6 separate regions of the Homo sapiens genome follow, and all the other regions are linked to region 5. Evidence: promoter capture Hi-C in human tissues and cell types (Jung and others, 2019). All regions are on one chromosome and are shown on one strand. The core of a region is centred on a gene start or on the middle of the fragment in contact, and the rest is flanking DNA. Distances in the headings are between cores, read along the strand shown. Region 1 overlaps PPP2R5C (protein phosphatase 2 regulatory subunit B'gamma). Region 2 overlaps PPP2R5C (protein phosphatase 2 regulatory subunit B'gamma). Region 3 overlaps DYNC1H1 (dynein cytoplasmic 1 heavy chain 1). Region 4 holds the start of TRAF3 (TNF receptor associated factor 3). Region 5 holds the start of ZNF839 (zinc finger protein 839). Region 6 overlaps PPP2R5C (protein phosphatase 2 regulatory subunit B'gamma).

Region 1 (2,700 bases), core at 120-2,619, 460 kb before region 5:
GTTGTCTTCTAGGGACCAGTCTAAGTGCTTTGCATTTATTAACTCATTTAATCCTCACAACTACCCTATGGAGTAGAAGTGTTAGAATTTGTATTTCTATTTATTATTTTATCTTCTTTAAATTTTTTTAAAACATATTTAACATTAATATACTAGTGCCTTTTTATAGTTCAGAAGTAAACATTTTGTCCATCCATGTGCAGGAAAATTCTAATGATGGGATGGAGTTGAAATATTGACAGAACCAAGCTGGTGTCAGAATAGTTCATGCTGATTGGCTGAGAAGGCCTCCACCTGTCAGTGCTGGGATCAGGACAGCCCATGCTGATTGGCTGAGAAGGCCGCCACCTGTCAGTGCTAGGATCAGGACAGCCCATGCTGATTGGCTGAGAAGGCCTTCCTCTGTCAGTGCTTCCTCTGTCATTCCTCTATCAATGACAGTATGTCCTGACTGGCTGAAATAGTCTTATCATCCTGCAGTTAGTTCACTGTTGGTTTTATTCAGCCCCCAGATCTCAGTCCTCTGAAGTGTCAAACTTTACAGCCCATTCCTCAGTCAGTACCACCTGGAAACACTTCATTCAGTGCCATTACCAAAATTCATTGTTTGACGCTGAAATCCAGTTTTCTGTTGATTTTTCTTGAATTGTTGATATTTTATCTGCCTTTGAAACTAGTACCCCCCACACACACACTTACTGGGGAGTCAGTGTGGCTTAGTGTAAAATGTTAAGTCCAATTTTCATTGAACTCTTTGTTAAGTTACTGATTTTTTTTTCCAAAGCTATATATTTCAGAATTGACTGGACTTCTTGACCTAAAATACTTTTATTTCCTTCTTTAGTATGTTTGCTTTGGAAAAAGATGAAAGTAATGTTCTTCGTTGTAGTTCAGTCTACTGTGTCAGAGGTTGAGATCAACTTGATTGTTTTAACTTGTTGTTTTTAACTCTTAAAGTTCAGAATTCACTGGCATGGCTACCATGTAGTCGGCCTAAGGACTACAAAGGCCATGCGGGTTCCTGTCCCAGACTTGTGCCTGAAGAAGAGTAATAGGCATAAACTGAGCAGAGAATATATACCCTAAAACCTTACCTGTTCAGACTAATGACACTTGGGGAATAGCTTTTTTCTTTCATTAATTTTAACTCTCAATTACTTTGGAGGCCCACTCTAGCCCCAGAATCATAAAAATCTCTAATATTTTCTCCTATTACTTTCATAATTTTGTTTTGCGCATCACATTTTATAATCTTTTTTCTTTTAGGTATGGATATGTAATAGTTGTACATATTTATGGAGTATATGTGATATTTAGGTAGAAGCATAGAATCCGTAATGATCAAATCAGGGTAATTGGGGTTTCCATCACCTCAAGCGTTTATCATTTCTTTGTGTTAGGAGCATTCCAGTTTTTTTGTTTGTTTGTTTTTTGTTTTTTGTTTTTTTTTATGATGTGGGTTAGGGATAGAACTTCATTTTCTTTTAAATTTATTTTCTTCTAAAATTATTGAAAAATTATTTCTCCCTACATCATGTATTGACTATTTCATTTCCCCCTATTGCTTAATGCTTCCTTATTATGTGTTCATTTTATTTTACTGTATGTTAGATTTATAAGTATATAAATTCTATATTAAGTTTACACGTGTGGAAGATTTTCCTATGTTTAAGAAAGTCTCTGATTCCCACTCTTTAACCTAAGAGGGAAGAATCTACAAAGAATGACAAGACTCCCGCTGGCCTGGTTCAGGTCAAATGCCCGCCCTTGAACCGAGTGTGCTCCCGACTGCTTGAAACCGCCTCTCGTTTGTATTTCACAGTAGCAGTGTGGGTTACTGGCACCACTTAGGATACTTAAAAGCCCTTGAGGCTGTTTTTATAGATTAAGTCATCATTGCCTCTCCTCTCCCTGTCATAATTGTTTCCTAACTTGATTCTCCTCCTGCTGTATTAACTTGTTTCCCACCCAAACCTCGCGCTGGGCTCCAGAGCGTTGCCAGCCCCTGGGCTCCCTAAGCAGTAAGCAGACACTGAGCATCCATCATGGGCCAGGCACGTTTTGGGGTGAGGAAATAGAATGGCGAACAAGACTTCTGCCCTCCTAAAGCTTTCATTTTCACCTAAAGCTTTCATTTTCACGTGGGAGACAACCATAAAATAAGCCAACCAATAATTTTCATTTTAGATTACGGTGATGCCGTGAATAAAAGTAATCCAGATGAAATAGATAGGGTTGCAAGACTGGGAATGTGATTTCTGCCTTATGCCCACGTGGGCGGGAAGAAGGCGCAGAGTGGAAACTGGGTGATGAATTAGACTGTCCTGTGAAGATGGGCACACATGAGATGCTGTCTGTGGTCACTGTGAGAGCAGGGGACATTTTCTTTCCTTTCTGCTCTAAGTTCAGAAGGCAACATAGCCTTTCCCTACCCCTTGTTTGTCTGGATCTGGAGGTAGAATAGGGGATGGGGACAGATTGGATTTTTGGTTTTGTTGTTTTGTTCTGTAGCTAGAGGGCATTGATGAGAAGTATAGTGAAAGAAGGAAGAACACAGGCGGTGGGGTGGTGCCTGGCCTTGGTTTGTGACCCTCTTGTCAAGAATTTAAGCAACCAGTACAAGGCCTCTGTCCCAAGCAGTGCCTGGGCCTGGTGTGGCAGGCAGCAAAAGCCTGGGCCTCTTTGTGGTTCACGTCTGAT
Region 2 (2,700 bases), core at 123-2,622, 400 kb before region 5:
GGCTGAGTTGAGCAGCAGGGCCTGGGCCTGGAGGCATGGAAGCCAGGGTGAATAAGGAGGGACAGAGGGTGTGGGAAAAGGCCGAAGACAGCCCACAGAGGAAGGAGCCCAAGGCACCTGGAGGAGAGGCTGGGGTCACAGAGACCGAGGGAGGGTGCAGGTTCAGGGCTGAATGATGGCGTCCATGGTCATCATTCCTCAGAGAGGCCCAGTGAGGCAAGGCCGGGAAGGGCTTAGCAGCCAGAGGGCACCCATAGGCCTCATGCCAGAGGTGGCTCCGTCAGAGGATGAGGGCCAACACCAGACGGTGGCTGAGAACGGAGCTGCTCTGGGCTGGCAGGGTGTGAGGGGCAGGGGTGAGGGGGCAGGGGGTGAGAGGCAGGGGTGAAGCAGGTCAGCAGGAGGGCGCTGCTGTGACAGGAGCTCAGCCTGAAAGAGGCCGAAGCTGTGGGACTCACTGGGCAGAGAATGGAGGGGTGTGGATGAGAGCAGCCTGGGCAGGAACCCCCGCTCCCCTCTCCTGAACTCAGAGGCCCTGAGCAAGTTCCCCAGCCCCTCCATGTCCCAGTTCCCCCATCAGCCAGGTGAGGGTGGCAGTACACACACACGACCACGCAGGACAAACAGGCGCCCCACACAGTTCCCAGCTCACAGCAGACACAGATGCCACTTCCTTCGCCTGTGCCCTCAGAGCCAGCAGACGCTCGTCACAGTCATACTGTCCTGTGCACCCTGTCTCATGGAACCCTCACAGCCACCCTCCGGGGTGACCTTACCCCCGCACTACACTCATGGAAATGGAGTCAACCAGGCCCAGTGACTGAGGGCTGAGCCATCTGTGTTTCAATCCAGAGCACAGGGAGAGTGGAGAAGTCCCAGGGCCGCCCGTAGGGAATGGAGAGGGAGCGTCAGGCTCACCCAGGCTGCGTTTGTTTTGGTGGAGAGCAAGTCACCCGGGATGTGATGAGAGGGTTTCATAAGCAAGCCGGGAAAATGGGATAAAGGGGAGAGAGAACCGTGCCAGCTGTCTCGATGAGAGGACATGATCGTGAGAGGAAAGGGAAAAGAATCATGAGGTTGGAGGTCGCTGGCAAAGAATGGGCGGCCAGAGGTGAGGGTTCCAGTGGTGAGACAGCTCCCACCACCGAGCCCAGGGTGCGACCTCGCACTTGGCTGCTCACGTGGAGTCAGAACTGCAGAGGCCATGGGGTGTGGGCCAGGGTATGGGCGGGCCACTGTCCATCAGATGCAGAGGGGTCAGGAGGGGACCAGCTGCTTTACTGTCTCCACTGAGTGCTTTCTGGTTTCAGAAGTCAGCAGCCGCATCATGTTGCAGGTGTAGGCGAGTCTCCCACTGAGTGGGCTTCCTGCGGGAGAGGGCCCTGGGGGGCGGCAGGGGAGATGAGTCCCTAGCCAGGATGAGAAGCTTGGAGTTCAGAGCCTGGGCACCTAACAGAGCGACTCCACGCTTTGCATTGCAGTACACAGTGTATAGTCAAGCCAGCACCATGAGCATTCCGGTTGCAATGGAGACAGATGGGCCTTTATTTGAAGATGTGCAGATGCTGAGAAAGACAGTGAAGGACGAGGCTCATCAGGTAAAAGTGCACCGAGCTCAGCTGGGCACCCATGACTGATTTGCTTAAGAAATGCACATTTTTGTAGGCGATGTGATTTGCATCAGTGCCTTCTGTTTAAGCTGAAATTAAAACTTAAATTTTGCTAGTCTTATAGGAAACATTGTATCGATAGATCTTAGTGATCAAATTACTAGAAACAGTTTTTAAGGATTAAGTATGTGCCTGAGATGTGTATCTCCATTTACTAACAGCAGTAGTAATCCCAACTCTTAACTGTTCTTTAAATGTTCACTCCAGCAAAATCGAAAGCTTCACAGCCATATCCACCCCTCGCTGTTTTCTTCACAGCCCTCTGGCTTCTGCTTCGACCCAGAGAGGCTCCCTTAGCTCTTCACAGCGGGTGCTAACAACCCCTCTCCCTAGGACACCTCACCCTCCTTGCCCCTCCCCCTGTCCCCTCACCCCCTTGCCCCTCCCCCCTTGCCCCCTCACCCCCCTCGCCCCGTCCCCTTCCCCCCTCACCCCCTTCATCCCCCTCGCTCCTCTGGCCCCCCACCCCTCCCCCCACCCCTCAGCCTTCTCCCCTCGCCCCCCTCATCCCCCTCGCTCCTCTCGCCCCCCCACCCCTCCCCCCACCCCTCAGCCTTCTCCCCTTGCCCCCCTCATCCCCCTCACTCCTCTCGCCCCCCCACCCCTCCCCCTCTCCCCCCTGACCCCCCTCGCCCCCCTCGCCCCCTCCCGGGCACTGTCTTTCAGTGCTTTGGTCACAGGCCACCTCCAAAGAGAGCCTCCGACCACTGTTACTCCTCAGCTGGGCCTGTAGACACTTAGGACAACTGACTCAGTTCCTGCCTGGGTTCAAGGAGCGTTTCAGCTGCCGTGTTTCCCTGAGCGTCCCTCCCTGTTTCAAATGCCTGTAAACTAAAACAGTAGTCCCAAATGGCCTGGGGACATTGGCCTTTCTCACTGAGAAACTTTAACCTCTTTTTGACCAGCGAAAGAATTCCAAAAGACATCCCCTTCTAAAATTCTGAGGTAAGAAGTGAAAGTAGGCGCCCCGCCTGTGGAGTAGCCATTGTTTTACTCCTTTACTGCATTAAATAAAATATGTTGTTTGAAT
Region 3 (2,700 bases), core at 138-2,637, 290 kb before region 5:
ACTCTGTCTCAAAAAAAAAAAAAAATTGCCAGGTATGGTGGCGTGTGCCTATAGTCCCAGCTACTTGAGAGGCAGGAGAATCACTTGAACCCAGGAGGCAGAGGTTGCAGTGAGCTGAGATCAGGCCACTGCACTCTAGCCTGGGTGACAGAGTGAGACCCTGTCTCAAGGAAAAAAAAAAAAAAAAAAAAGATGTATCTTTGAAACTCTTAATCACATTTCTAATTGAGTTTGTGTATTGAGTGAGCAGTGGGTCCGTTTTCAGTTCTTTCCTTATGGACACCCATTATCCCAGCAAAGTTTATTAAATAATAATTTACTCTGCAGTATCTGTCTGTCATCATAGTTTCCCTGTGTGCATAGGTATCCGTTAGTTGTTCTCTGTGCTAAAACCACATGGTCCTGATTATGGTAATAAGTCTGTTTAATAGGGCAGGCCCAGGCCAGGTGCGGTGGCTCACGCCTGTAATCCCAGCACTTTGGGAGGCCGAGACCGGCAGATCACAAGGTCAAGAGATCAAGACCATCCTGGCCAACGTGGTGAAACCCGTCTGTACTAAAAATACAAAAATTACCTGGGCATGGTGGTACGTGCCTGTAGTCCCAGCTACTTGGGAGGCTGAGGCAGGAGAATTGCTTGAACCCAGGAGGCGGAGGTTGCAGTGAGCTGAGATCGTGCCACAGCACTCCAGCCTGGTGACAGAGCGAGGCTACAAAAAAAAAAAAAAAAATAGGGCAGGCCCTCACACCTGGTTCTTTTCTGGAGGGATCTTTCCTGTTCCAAATGAAATACAGAAATGGCTTGTCAGGTTGCACCAGGACAATAAGCACCTCCCACCACTGAGATTTTGACTGGGATTACATTGAACTTATGGATGAGTTTGATGGAACTGGCATTTTTATAGTAGAGTGTTTTTTTCCTCCATGATCATGGTATGTCTCTTCATGTATTGAGGTCCTCTTCATTGCCTTTTGGTGAAGTTCAGTTTTCTCTATAAAAGTTTTTCATGTTTTTAGATCCATTCCTAGTGAATTTATATTTTTTTGCTATGTTATAAATGATACCTTTTTTGTTGCATTTTTAACAGTTTCTTCATGGTATGTGGACATACAGTTGACTTTGGTCTAATAACTAACATTTTTTTCTAAGTAATTTGGGTATTACCTTTTTTTCTATAGGATTACATCCCAGTAGACCAAGAAGAGTTAAGAGATTATGTCAAAGCTAGGCTGAAGGTCTTTTATGAAGAAGAACTTGATGTTCCGCTGGTGCTGTTTAATGAAGTCCTAGACCACGTGCTGAGGATTGACAGGTGGGCTTTTTTGTTGTTACAGCCCCACCTCTCGCCTAAGCTGCTCTTGAGTAAGTGTGTGTGCCGGGTCACACCAGGCCTCATGCTGTCCTACCACCTCCACCTCAGCCTTCTCCACCAAGCAGCTTCCCCCTTCTCTTCTTTCTAAGTCCAGCTTAACCATCCTCAGTTTATCCTAAGCAGAACTTCATTCTTCCTCCCCCAGCACTGCATACCTGCCATAATTATGGCCCTTTGACCTTCTGCTGGAATTGCATTAGTCTCTCATGTCAGTCTAGAGGACAGGACCGTGTCTTACTGGTCTTTGCATTCCTCCTGGACTTCACAAATAACAGTTGCTCAGCAAATGTTTAATATACAAGTTCAAGTTAAAACATGTCCAAAATACTGTAGACACTAGATATGAGTCAAAAGGGGAATGAGGCATTATAAGCCTTAACATTGATCAGTTCTCGTAATGTTTCAGAATATTCCGTCAACCTCAAGGCCACTTGCTTCTGATTGGTGTTAGTGGAGCAGGAAAAACTACCCTGTCTCGTTTCGTCGCCTGGATGAACGGTTTGAGTGTGTACCAGATTAAGGTGCGTCTGGTCGGTGGCCTCTTAATCCCAGCAACAGATGTGTGTGCAGAGCTCAGTGAGTAGGAATGGACCTAACTTGCCTCTGCTTCTGTAGGTCCATAGGAAGTACACAGGGGAAGACTTTGATGAAGATCTACGGACAGTGTTGAGACGTTCTGGCTGTAAAAATGAAAAGATAGCATTTATAATGGATGAATCTAATGTGTTAGATTCTGGATTCCTGGAGCGAATGAATACCCTTCTGGCCAATGGAGAGGTAATTAGGTGACGTGTTGCGTTGCATTACGTGTTACCGGGGGACCAGTAAGTCAGCACTGTGCTGTTTCCCAGGTGCCTGGTCTCTTTGAAGGAGACGAGTATGCCACCTTGATGACGCAGTGCAAAGAGGGGGCACAGAAGGAAGGCCTGATGCTGGACTCGCACGAGGAGCTCTACAAGTGGTTCACTAGCCAGGTTATCCGCAACCTCCACGTCGTGTTCACCATGAACCCGTCCTCGGAGGGACTCAAGGACCGGGCAGCTACATCACCAGCACTTTTCAACAGGTACGTGGGCCTTTACTTGGCTCTGGGTCAGGAAAGTCGGTGTCCTTCCAAGGGACAAAGCCTGCCCCTCATAGCTGTCCTGAAACATGGGCCTCTTTCTCAGGTGTGTGTTGAATTGGTTTGGAGACTGGTCCACCGAAGCACTGTATCAGGTTGGCAAAGAATTCACAAGTAAGATGGATCTGGAGAAGCCAAATTACATCGTGCCTGATTACATGCCAGTTGTGTATGATAAGCTGCCGCAGCCACCATCCCATCGGG
Region 4 (2,700 bases), core at 94-2,593, 460 kb after region 5:
GTAGAACAAGCATCTGTTGGGCTAATGGAGCCAGAGACATGGTCCAATGTCTCTGATGTCCAGATAGACTTCCAGCAGCCAGGTCGGACTATCTGGGGTTCTGGAACGTTCCATGGGTGAAGCTGTAGGAGGAGATGCTGGACTTCCTGCCTCCACTCACATGAGTCACTGGAGCAATACAAGAAGGCAGACTGGCCTTGGCTACTCACACTGGTCTCAGCTCTGGGGTAGGGCTCTTTATAAGCCTTCTTGAGAAGTGAAAAATGCAAAGTCCTTTCTGTCCCCTCACCACTGACTTGCAAACTCCAGCGAAGGCCTCACCCCTCAGCTGGCCCAGAGCCTCCCAGAAGCCCTCCCTTCGCTTCCCACCTCGCCAGGCCCAGCCAGGCTGGGTGCTGCCTTGGTGGGCCTAGGTGAATCACTGACACACCACTGATGCCTTTGGGGCAGAAGGCAGAGGCCTCGGGAGAAATGCGCAGGCCCCAGCGGCCTGGTGGAGGGTGCAGGGGGCGCAGGGGCAGCCAGGACCGCCGAGGACGCTGGGGGCACGTGGCAAACTGGCTACCCTGTCCACCCGTGAGCAAGACACCACTCCGGGGGCGTGGGAGGGTCCAAGGGAGGGAGAAAGGAAAGTGCCACCAAACTAATGTGGAGCCCTGCCCTCTGCATGCGAAAAGGGGCTCCACGGCCTGAGTCACCCTCAGCCCCACCTGCGTGTGCGCGAGGGTGCGTGGCCTGGTACGCGTGCGCACGGTGTTGGTGAGCGTGTGTGTGCGTGTCCGCTTGAGGGGAATGTGACCGTCGTGTATGCGTCCGCGACAGTGCGGGGGGCCGCATATCGGACCCGTGCGTGTGCGTAGGGGTCGCGTGTGGCCATGGGCACACGGGCGTGCACGCACGGGGGCTGCGTATGCTATGCTGGCGTGGGGGGTGCGGGCGAGGTGGCCGCGGGGAGGAGCGGCGCCAGCACCTCTCGGCCCCCACGCGGCCTGCGTGGCTTTTTGACCCGGAAAGGCGGGGACGCGGGGACGCGCGGCGGCGGGGGCGCGGCGGGGGCGGCGCAGAGCGAGGAGGCCCGCGGGGCGCGCGGCGGGGACGGGAGGGAGGCGGGGGGCGCCCGGGGCCGTCCCCGCCCCGCGCCGCGGCGCCGCCGTTGCTAAGGCCGGGCGGGCGGCCGCCGGGCGCTAGGGCCCTTAGCAACGGGTCGCGGGCGCGCGCGGGGGGCCGGCGGGCGCGTGGGGCCGGCGGCGCTCGCGGGCTCCTGCCGCTCCCACGCGCGCGGGCGGCGGGGGCGGGGCGGCGGGCGCGCCGGGGATTTCCAGCGCGCGAGAGGAAGTGCCTGCGCGGGGCTGCGTGAGGGAGCGAGGGAGCGAGGGAGCGCGGCGCGGCCGCCGCGTGCGCGAGCCGGGGTTGCAGCCCAGCCGGGACTTTCCAGCCGGCGGCAGCCGCGGCGGCCGCCGGCTCTTCCCCGCCCCCCGCCATGGGGCAGCCCGGGGAGCAGAACGCTGCGGACCGCGGCGGAGGACGCGCCCGGCGCCCCTGAGCCGGCCGAGCGGCGACGGACCGCGAGGTAAGGGGCCGCGGCGGGCGGGCGGGCCTCCGGCGCGCGGCCGGGCGCCTCCATCCCCGTCGCCTCCATCCCGCGCCCTGGGCGGCGGGGCCCGGGGGCCTCGGGGCTGCCCGGCGCGGGCCCGGCGCGGCGCAGGCCCGGCCCGTCCCAGCGGCGACGGCGGGGCGCGGCTTCAGCCTGGCCCCGCGCCCCAGCCGGGCTGCCTCCCGCCTCCGGACGCCTCAACTTCGGCAAACTTTGTCCCGGAGGCCGGGCTCGGGGCCCGAGGGGGCCGGGGCGCCCGCACCTTTTCAGGAAACGGGGCGCGCAGGCCTCGCTACGGCCGTGACCCCCGCTGGCGTTGAGGACCCGGCACCCCGCGGGGCCGCGGGTTTCACGCGGGGGGACGGGCGGCTCAGGGGCTGCGTGGCCGAGCGCGCTGCCCGGGCCGGCCGGGGGGGCCCGGGCGTTATTGGAAAGTTGGTCCTGAGTCATTCCGCCTCAGAGGCGCCTCCGACCGCTTGGCGGGCGGCGCGGGGGTCCGGGTATGGGCAGAGGGCGCGAATCCCCCTCGCGCGGCCGCCGAGGGCCGGCGACTCCCGGGGCACCGGGCGGCTCCTGGCCGCGGGCTCTGCGTCTTCCCCGCGGGCGCCAGGCGGCTCTCGGCGGGCTGGCCGGTTCCACGCCGCCAGCCAGCCCCGTGTGGGGACTTCGGTCTAGTATTTGGACCCGAGGAGATAATTCTGTGTGGAAAATTCTCTCCCTTCGGTTGGAAACAGTAACAAACTGGAAACGGATGAGGTGTTATGGACGTGCTTGGAAATGCAAGAAACCTTCAGATTACGAGCTGTTGACGGGACCAGTTGTATTTCACGTTTTTCGAATTAAGCTCAGAATCAGTTTTCAGAATGACATGTGATGCGTGGTGCGTGGTGTGTGTGCCTGTGTGTGTGTATGGATATAATTCATTCATTTTTGTGGCGTCAGAAAGGTTATGTCGAGCGTTGTAGCGGCTTCTTAATTTACATTCACGGCATACAACTGAAGAGGAGCCATTATTTATTTTTTTTCCTAGCATTTGCTGCGACTACACACTGCCGGAGCGTTTGGAAATGTTGTTTGCTGTTACCCTGTATTTGTCTATAAAATTC
Region 5 (2,700 bases), core at 132-2,631:
GCTCACACCTGTAATCTCAGCACTTGGGAAGGCCGAGGCGGGCGGATCACCTAAGGTCAGGGTTTCAAGACCAGCCTTACCAACATGATGAAACCCCGTCTCTACTAAAAATACAAAAATTAGCCAGGCATGGTGGCGGACGCCTGTAATCCCAGCTACTCAAGAGGCTGAGGCAGGAGAACCGCATGAACCCAGGCGATGGAGGTTGCGGTGAGCTGAGATTGTGCCACTGCACTCCAGCCTGGGTGACAGAGTGAGATCTTGTCTCAAAAAAAAAAAAAAATTGTGGTAAGATACCCATAATATAAAATTCACCATTAAAAAATAACACGGAAGGGATCATCGTGAATGCAATGTGAGTATTGATGAGGATGGTGGTGATCTTCCAGAACCTTCTCTGACGCCACCCAGGCCGCCAGCCTTACTTTACCGGCTTCGGCGCTCATCATACTGTGCTGCAAATGCCAGTTTCCTCCTTCCCCCTTGGGAAGTTTCCTCCTTGGGGGTCGGCACCTAGACTGTATACCCCCCAGGGCGGAAACAGCGGTTCACCCACCAGGTGCTTAAGAAGGGTTTGTGGACCAGTGGACCTCCTGCTCTCCCTGGGGAAAGGAGCTGGGACATGTGTACACACCTGCAGCTACAAGATTCGGAGGGCGCACAGAGCCTCAACCGTAAGAAGGAGAGGCGATCAGGCTGAGGAAGATGGGGCAGTGGAGCTGGATGGATAGAGAGAGGGTGGGTTCATTCATTCGTTCACTCATTCGTTTATTCATATTCATCCATCCATCATTCATGCCCTGAGCGTGCGTTGTGTTCTGGGCAGGGCCTGTGCTGGGCACCGATTGTGTAATATATCATCTCTCCCTTCAAGGTGCACCCAATCTGGGTGGGTGGGTAGAGAGAAGCTACGGTGACAAGGCAAAAATTTGGGAAACACTCTCGTTAACAATTCAAACTGTGGTCCCCTCCCAGATGTATAAATCCAAATGTTTAGGGGTGGGCACAGTACTCTGCATCTCCAGACAGCATCCTCCGCTGATTCGGATGCATGATGACGTCAGAACACTTGGATATTGTGGTAACTTTTGGGCCAGGGGCTCTGAAACCCCGAAGACCTCCCCCTGGGAGATCCGGGACAGCTCCCAGAGAAGGTGAGTCTTAAACACATCCGTGACAGGCAATAAGGAAAATAAGGGGGGTCCGCTCTGCTGATCAGCCCTAAGAGCCGCGGCGGTTGTCGGCTGGGGCGGGGCACTCCACGACTTTCCCGGCCAGACACGGTCGCCTTCCTAGGTGTCTTGGCCTGCGAGGCACTCGTAGCCCGCCCCTCTCCTAGGTGACGTACATTGGAGACGCCGTCGCTCAGCGACCCGGGTTCGAGTCCCCGCCTCGGCCGCCATGGCGGATGCGGAGCCGGAGGCTGGGGGCGGCAGCGAGGATGGCGGCGGCGGCGGCGGCCCGGCTCCTCCGGGCCAGAGCGGCAGCGTCGCACGTGTGGCCCCGCTGGGCCCCGAGCAGCTGCGGCAGGTCCTGGAGCAGGTGACGAAGGCGCAGCCGCCGCCGCCGCCGCCCCCCTTCGTGCTGCGGGACGCGGCGCGGCGGCTGCGGGACGCGGCCCAACAGGCCGCCCTGCAGCGGGGCCGGGGCACCGAGCCCCCGCGCCTGCCGCGCCTGCTCCCGCCCCAGGTGAGGCGTCGGGAGGGACGTGGGGAAACTGAGGCCCGAAGGGGGCCGACGCCCCGCGGCGGGGTAGCTGCTTGTCCGGGGAGGCCAGTATCCGCCCGGGTTAAGACTCAGGGCGTCCCCAGGCTGAGCTTCTTAGGGACGGCGTTCGGCCCCCACCTGTCACCACCCTGGCATTTTCACCCCAGGAGCCTCACTCTAGGAGCGGTTGCTCACGCTGGGCCCTGTGCCTGGAACGCCCTCGTGCCTTCTCTGCCTTCACAGCCCTGCTGGGGGCTTTTGCGTGCTCCCTAGCTCTTCTTACAGGCCTTTCACCGCTGGTTCAGCCTTTGTGGAGCACTTAGAGACCGTGTTCCCAGCACTCCCCACTATGTGCAGGAGGTGAAGCCTTGAACACACTTGCTGAAGAACGAACATAAGGCAGGTTCTGGGATTGACGGGGGCTGCTTTAGAGTGGGTGGTCCCGTAGGCCAGACACTGGAGCTGAAACATAAATGAATTAAAAGGAACCAACTTAGCTTTTCAGTTGTAAGGTGCCAAGGCCCAGGCTTGGAACAAAGTCAAGCACAATACACTAGTTCGCTGCAGGACTTAACATCCTGGGTGATAGTGACTGATTTGTAACCGCAGTACCCAGCACAGTGCCTGATACACAATGTTTGGAATATGTGAAAGCACTCTGTATACTACAAAACATCCTTTCCCAGTGGGTTTATTTCCTGGGCCACACACCTTTTGGTTGCTAGGGGGGTGATAACTAGAAGACGGTCGCCCAACTCCGGAGGGTGAAGCATAGCGCCTGAAGCCAGAGGGCCTACACGGCATCTGTAAAATTCCACCCCATTTCAGCGCTGGGGTTGTAAACAAAATTAGTCTCACCCCAAAATTGCCAAAAGAAGACAGCTTTTTCCACTAGAAGAAACGGGTTAGGGAATAGAATCAGGAACCTTCACTCGTTGAGTTTTTTTGACTGATGTTAGCTGCTTAGGGTTGTATCCAGTTAATCATCAAGAC
Region 6 (2,700 bases), core at 154-2,653, 440 kb before region 5:
ATAACCCTTGTGGTTTTGAACAGAGAACTGTAAATAATCAAACCTTTCTTTCCTGTTGCCTCTAAAGTTAGACTGTCAGCGGTTTTTTTTTTTAATGTATCCCTTCATGTCTTAAAATTTTTATATGTTACACTGCTGCAGTTATGTTACGGCATAAATATTCACTCATTGGTAATGAATGATAACACATACAGAAAGGCTGCATGATATTGCTGAATTGTAAGAATTTTCCGTAAAGTTGCTTCTTGGGCCATTCTAGTTTACATCTAATTTAATAAATTTAGCAATTTGGAGAACATCTGCAGGACTGATGTAAGTACTGAAAGTGGAAGTGTCAGGGAGGCAGCAGAAGCAGGTGCTTCCTGATATTAACCAGAGACGGTCCTGGCACAGATGGGGCCGTGTGAATCACATGCAGACATACGTATGCACTCACGTGCGTGCCATTATTTTCATGTGGAGGTCAAACAGTCAGAAACGTTTGGGAAGTGCTGTGTAATGCTAACTGTTCGTGCATAATGTTTTCCCATTTAGTAAGTGCTGTTGCATGTGTTTTCTGTGATTCTCACCACAGCCCAATGCAAAAAATAAAAAAAGGATTTACGCTTTTTTTTTTTTTTTTTTTTTTTTTTGAGATGGAGTCTCACTCTATTGCCCAGGCTGGAGTGCAGTGGTGCAATCTCGGTTCACTGCAACTTCCACCTCCCAGATTCAAGTGATTCTCCTGCCTCAGCCTCCCGAGTAGCTGGGATTACAGGCACCCACCACCACACCCAGCTAAGTTTTGTATTTTTAGTGGAGATGGGGTTTCACCATGTTGGCTAGGCTGCTCTTGAACTCTTGACCTCAAGTGATCCACCCGCCTCGGCCTCCCAAAGTGCTGGGATTACAGGCATGAGTCACCGCGCCTGGCCTTTACCCTTTCCAATGGAGGAGAAAATTGAGGCTCAGGCAGGCTGTTTGGTCTGAGGTCCTTCTTCTAGGTGGGAAGAGGGTGTAGAGAGACTGTTTCCATGAGGCTGTGCTGCCTTTGTTGGGCAGCGTGATTCTGCGTCTGTGCCTCTGGGTGTGCGCTGGATCCGTAGGTCTCATTTGAGAGATCACAGTGACCCTGTGTGCTGCCCAGAAGACCCGGGACTCCTTAGACCTCAGAGCTTCTTTGGTGTTCACTGCATAACGTTGATGTCTTCTCTGTTTCCTCAGACCGGATCCATGCATCCAGGTAGCATGGCAGTGACATTTGCACACAGACATCAGCACCCCAGGTTTCTGTACCTGGGGCTCCTGCCCCTGATTCGCCCCTGCAGCTTTTGTGTTAAGAAATGTTGCTAGGTCAGAAACCCAAGAAGAATTTGAGGTGATAGACCGTTGGCCCTCTGTTCCTTCCCCCCGCCCCAGTATTACTTTTTACTTAACCTTTTCTAGAGATATGCACTAAATTAATGCAATGTAATGTGGTAAGAAAGGTGTGTAGAAGTTAGGAGTGCAAGTTTTTTTCCTTACACATGAGAAATGACTTTCAATCAATCAGAATTGGCCTGGAATGAACCTTCCCGGACCTAGGTCGGTCATCAGTCAAGGACGCTGTATCAGTCTGCTCAGGCTGCCGTAAGAAAATACCACAGGCTGGTGGCTTAAACCACAGAAATGTGTCTTCTCTCCATTCTAGAGGCTGGAAAGTCTAAACTCAAGGGTGTAGCAGGGTTTGTTCCCTGCTGAGGGCCTTTTCTGGCTTGCAGACGGCCACTGTGCCCTCCCATGGCCTTTGCTCCGAGCAAGTGCAGAGAAGGCGAGTGTGAGCCTTCTACCATCCCTCCTTACAAAGACACTAATCCTGGAGGGCCAAGGCCCCACTTATGACTTCATTCACCCTTCATTATTTTCTCTGAGGACCCATCTCCAAATCCAGCCACACCAGGGTTTAGGTCTTTAACATGAATGTGAGGAAGGGAGGCCACAAGCATTGAGTCCATGACAGACACTGAAAAGAGGACATTGTGTTCAGAGCAAGCCATCTGAGTCACCTTGCAGGCCCTCAGCTCAGCATCAAGGATTCAGTGAGTGTGCAGGTGTTTGAGACGGGGCCTAGCTGCTGGGCTGACTGTCACTGTGCGGGAGAGCTTCAACTGGAAACCCTAATCACTAGCTTTCCTGCTAGTAGAAACCACCAGTTTACTTAGGAATCTCAGCTGACTGGGTGCCTCAGTCAGGGCTGTGCAGAGAAACAGCAGGAGAGACAGAGATTGAGATCTCAAGGACTTGCCTTCTGCAGTGGGTGAGTCCAGCGGGCAGGTCTGGACTCCGTGGACAGGCAGCGGGCACGAGACTTGGCCGTGGTGGACACTGCAGGCCGCAGGTGGACTCTCCTCAGAGAAGCTGCAGTTTGGGTCTCACAGGCCTCTCAGCTGACTGGTTGAAGCCCCCACATTCTCAAGAGTGATCGCTACTTGAAGTCCATTGATTATAGGTGTTAACCACATCTATAAAATGCCTTCACAGGAACACCCACAGCAGTGTTTGGACAGCTGGGCACTGTGGCCTAGCCGGGTTGACACATACGGCCAGCTGGCACAGTCGGGGACATTTTACTTTTTTTCAGTTATCGCCTTTAACCACGATGGGTGAAATCACACTTTCCTGTGCCTAAATAACATCTTAGGCAAGTTGGTTAACTTCTTAGTCATCCCTGGTCACAGAAAT

What was found. Contacts are between HindIII fragments. The study calls those that stand out against the background at their distance.
Region 1: a fragment that was not itself captured here is called in contact with the fragment with the promoter of ZNF839 in region 5 in 1 of the 25 tissues and cell types used here (lymphoblastoid cells).
Region 2: a contact is called between a fragment that was not itself captured here and the fragment with the promoter of ZNF839 in region 5, in 1 of the 25 tissues and cell types used here (adrenal gland).
Region 3: a contact is called between a fragment that was not itself captured here and the fragment with the promoter of ZNF839 in region 5, in 2 of the 25 tissues and cell types used here (H1 embryonic stem cells and IMR-90 fibroblasts).
Region 4: a contact is called between the fragment with the promoter of TRAF3 here and the fragment with the promoter of ZNF839 in region 5, in 1 of the 25 tissues and cell types used here (thymus).
Region 6: a contact is called between a fragment that was not itself captured here and the fragment with the promoter of ZNF839 in region 5, in 2 of the 25 tissues and cell types used here (lymphoblastoid cells and mesendoderm cells).

What each region holds. Positions count from the first base shown.
Region 1 is chr14:101,857,075-101,859,774 of GRCh38, forward strand. The region is part of intron 4 of PPP2R5C (protein phosphatase 2 regulatory subunit B'gamma); the gene reads left to right. Among named protein-coding and RNA genes, the nearest start is that of PPP2R5C, 97 kb to the left of the region's middle. The HindIII fragment of the contact is 3,562 bases long and covers 1-2,700 here.
Region 2 is chr14:101,916,350-101,919,049 of GRCh38, forward strand. PPP2R5C (protein phosphatase 2 regulatory subunit B'gamma) reads left to right here. Exons shown (of 16, transcript NM_001352913.2): 15 at 1,482-1,598. Among named protein-coding and RNA genes, the nearest start is that of DYNC1H1, 47 kb to the right of the region's middle. RefSeq lists an enhancer at 821-1,476. The HindIII fragment of the contact is 4,410 bases long and covers 1-2,700 here.
Region 3 is chr14:102,025,395-102,028,094 of GRCh38, forward strand. DYNC1H1 (dynein cytoplasmic 1 heavy chain 1) reads left to right here. Exons shown (of 78, transcript NM_001376.5): 44 at 1,180-1,313; 45 at 1,780-1,894; 46 at 1,989-2,150; 47 at 2,225-2,439; 48 at 2,543-2,700. Among named protein-coding and RNA genes, the nearest start is that of HSP90AA1, 60 kb to the right of the region's middle. RefSeq lists an enhancer at 1,928-2,700. The HindIII fragment of the contact is 7,400 bases long and covers 1-2,700 here.
Region 4 is chr14:102,776,106-102,778,805 of GRCh38, forward strand. TRAF3 (TNF receptor associated factor 3) reads left to right here and starts at 1,344. Exons shown (of 12, transcript NM_145725.3): 1 at 1,344-1,570. RefSeq lists an enhancer at 1-156 and silencers at 867-926, 1,017-1,626, 1,837-1,886, 2,127-2,186. The HindIII fragment of the contact is 12,756 bases long and covers 1-2,700 here.
Region 5 is chr14:102,318,365-102,321,064 of GRCh38, forward strand. It overlaps ZNF839 (zinc finger protein 839), which reads left to right and starts at 1,382. Exons shown (of 8, transcript NM_018335.6): 1 at 1,382-1,689. The coding sequence starts at 1,402. RefSeq lists silencers at 1,442-1,541, 1,602-1,791 and an enhancer at 1,892-2,001. The HindIII fragment of the contact is 9,233 bases long and covers 1-2,700 here.
Region 6 is chr14:101,876,335-101,879,034 of GRCh38, forward strand. All of the region lies in intron 4 of PPP2R5C (protein phosphatase 2 regulatory subunit B'gamma), which reads left to right. Among named protein-coding and RNA genes, the nearest start is that of DYNC1H1, 87 kb to the right of the region's middle. RefSeq lists enhancers at 87-156, 2,375-2,524. The HindIII fragment of the contact is 7,006 bases long and covers 1-2,700 here.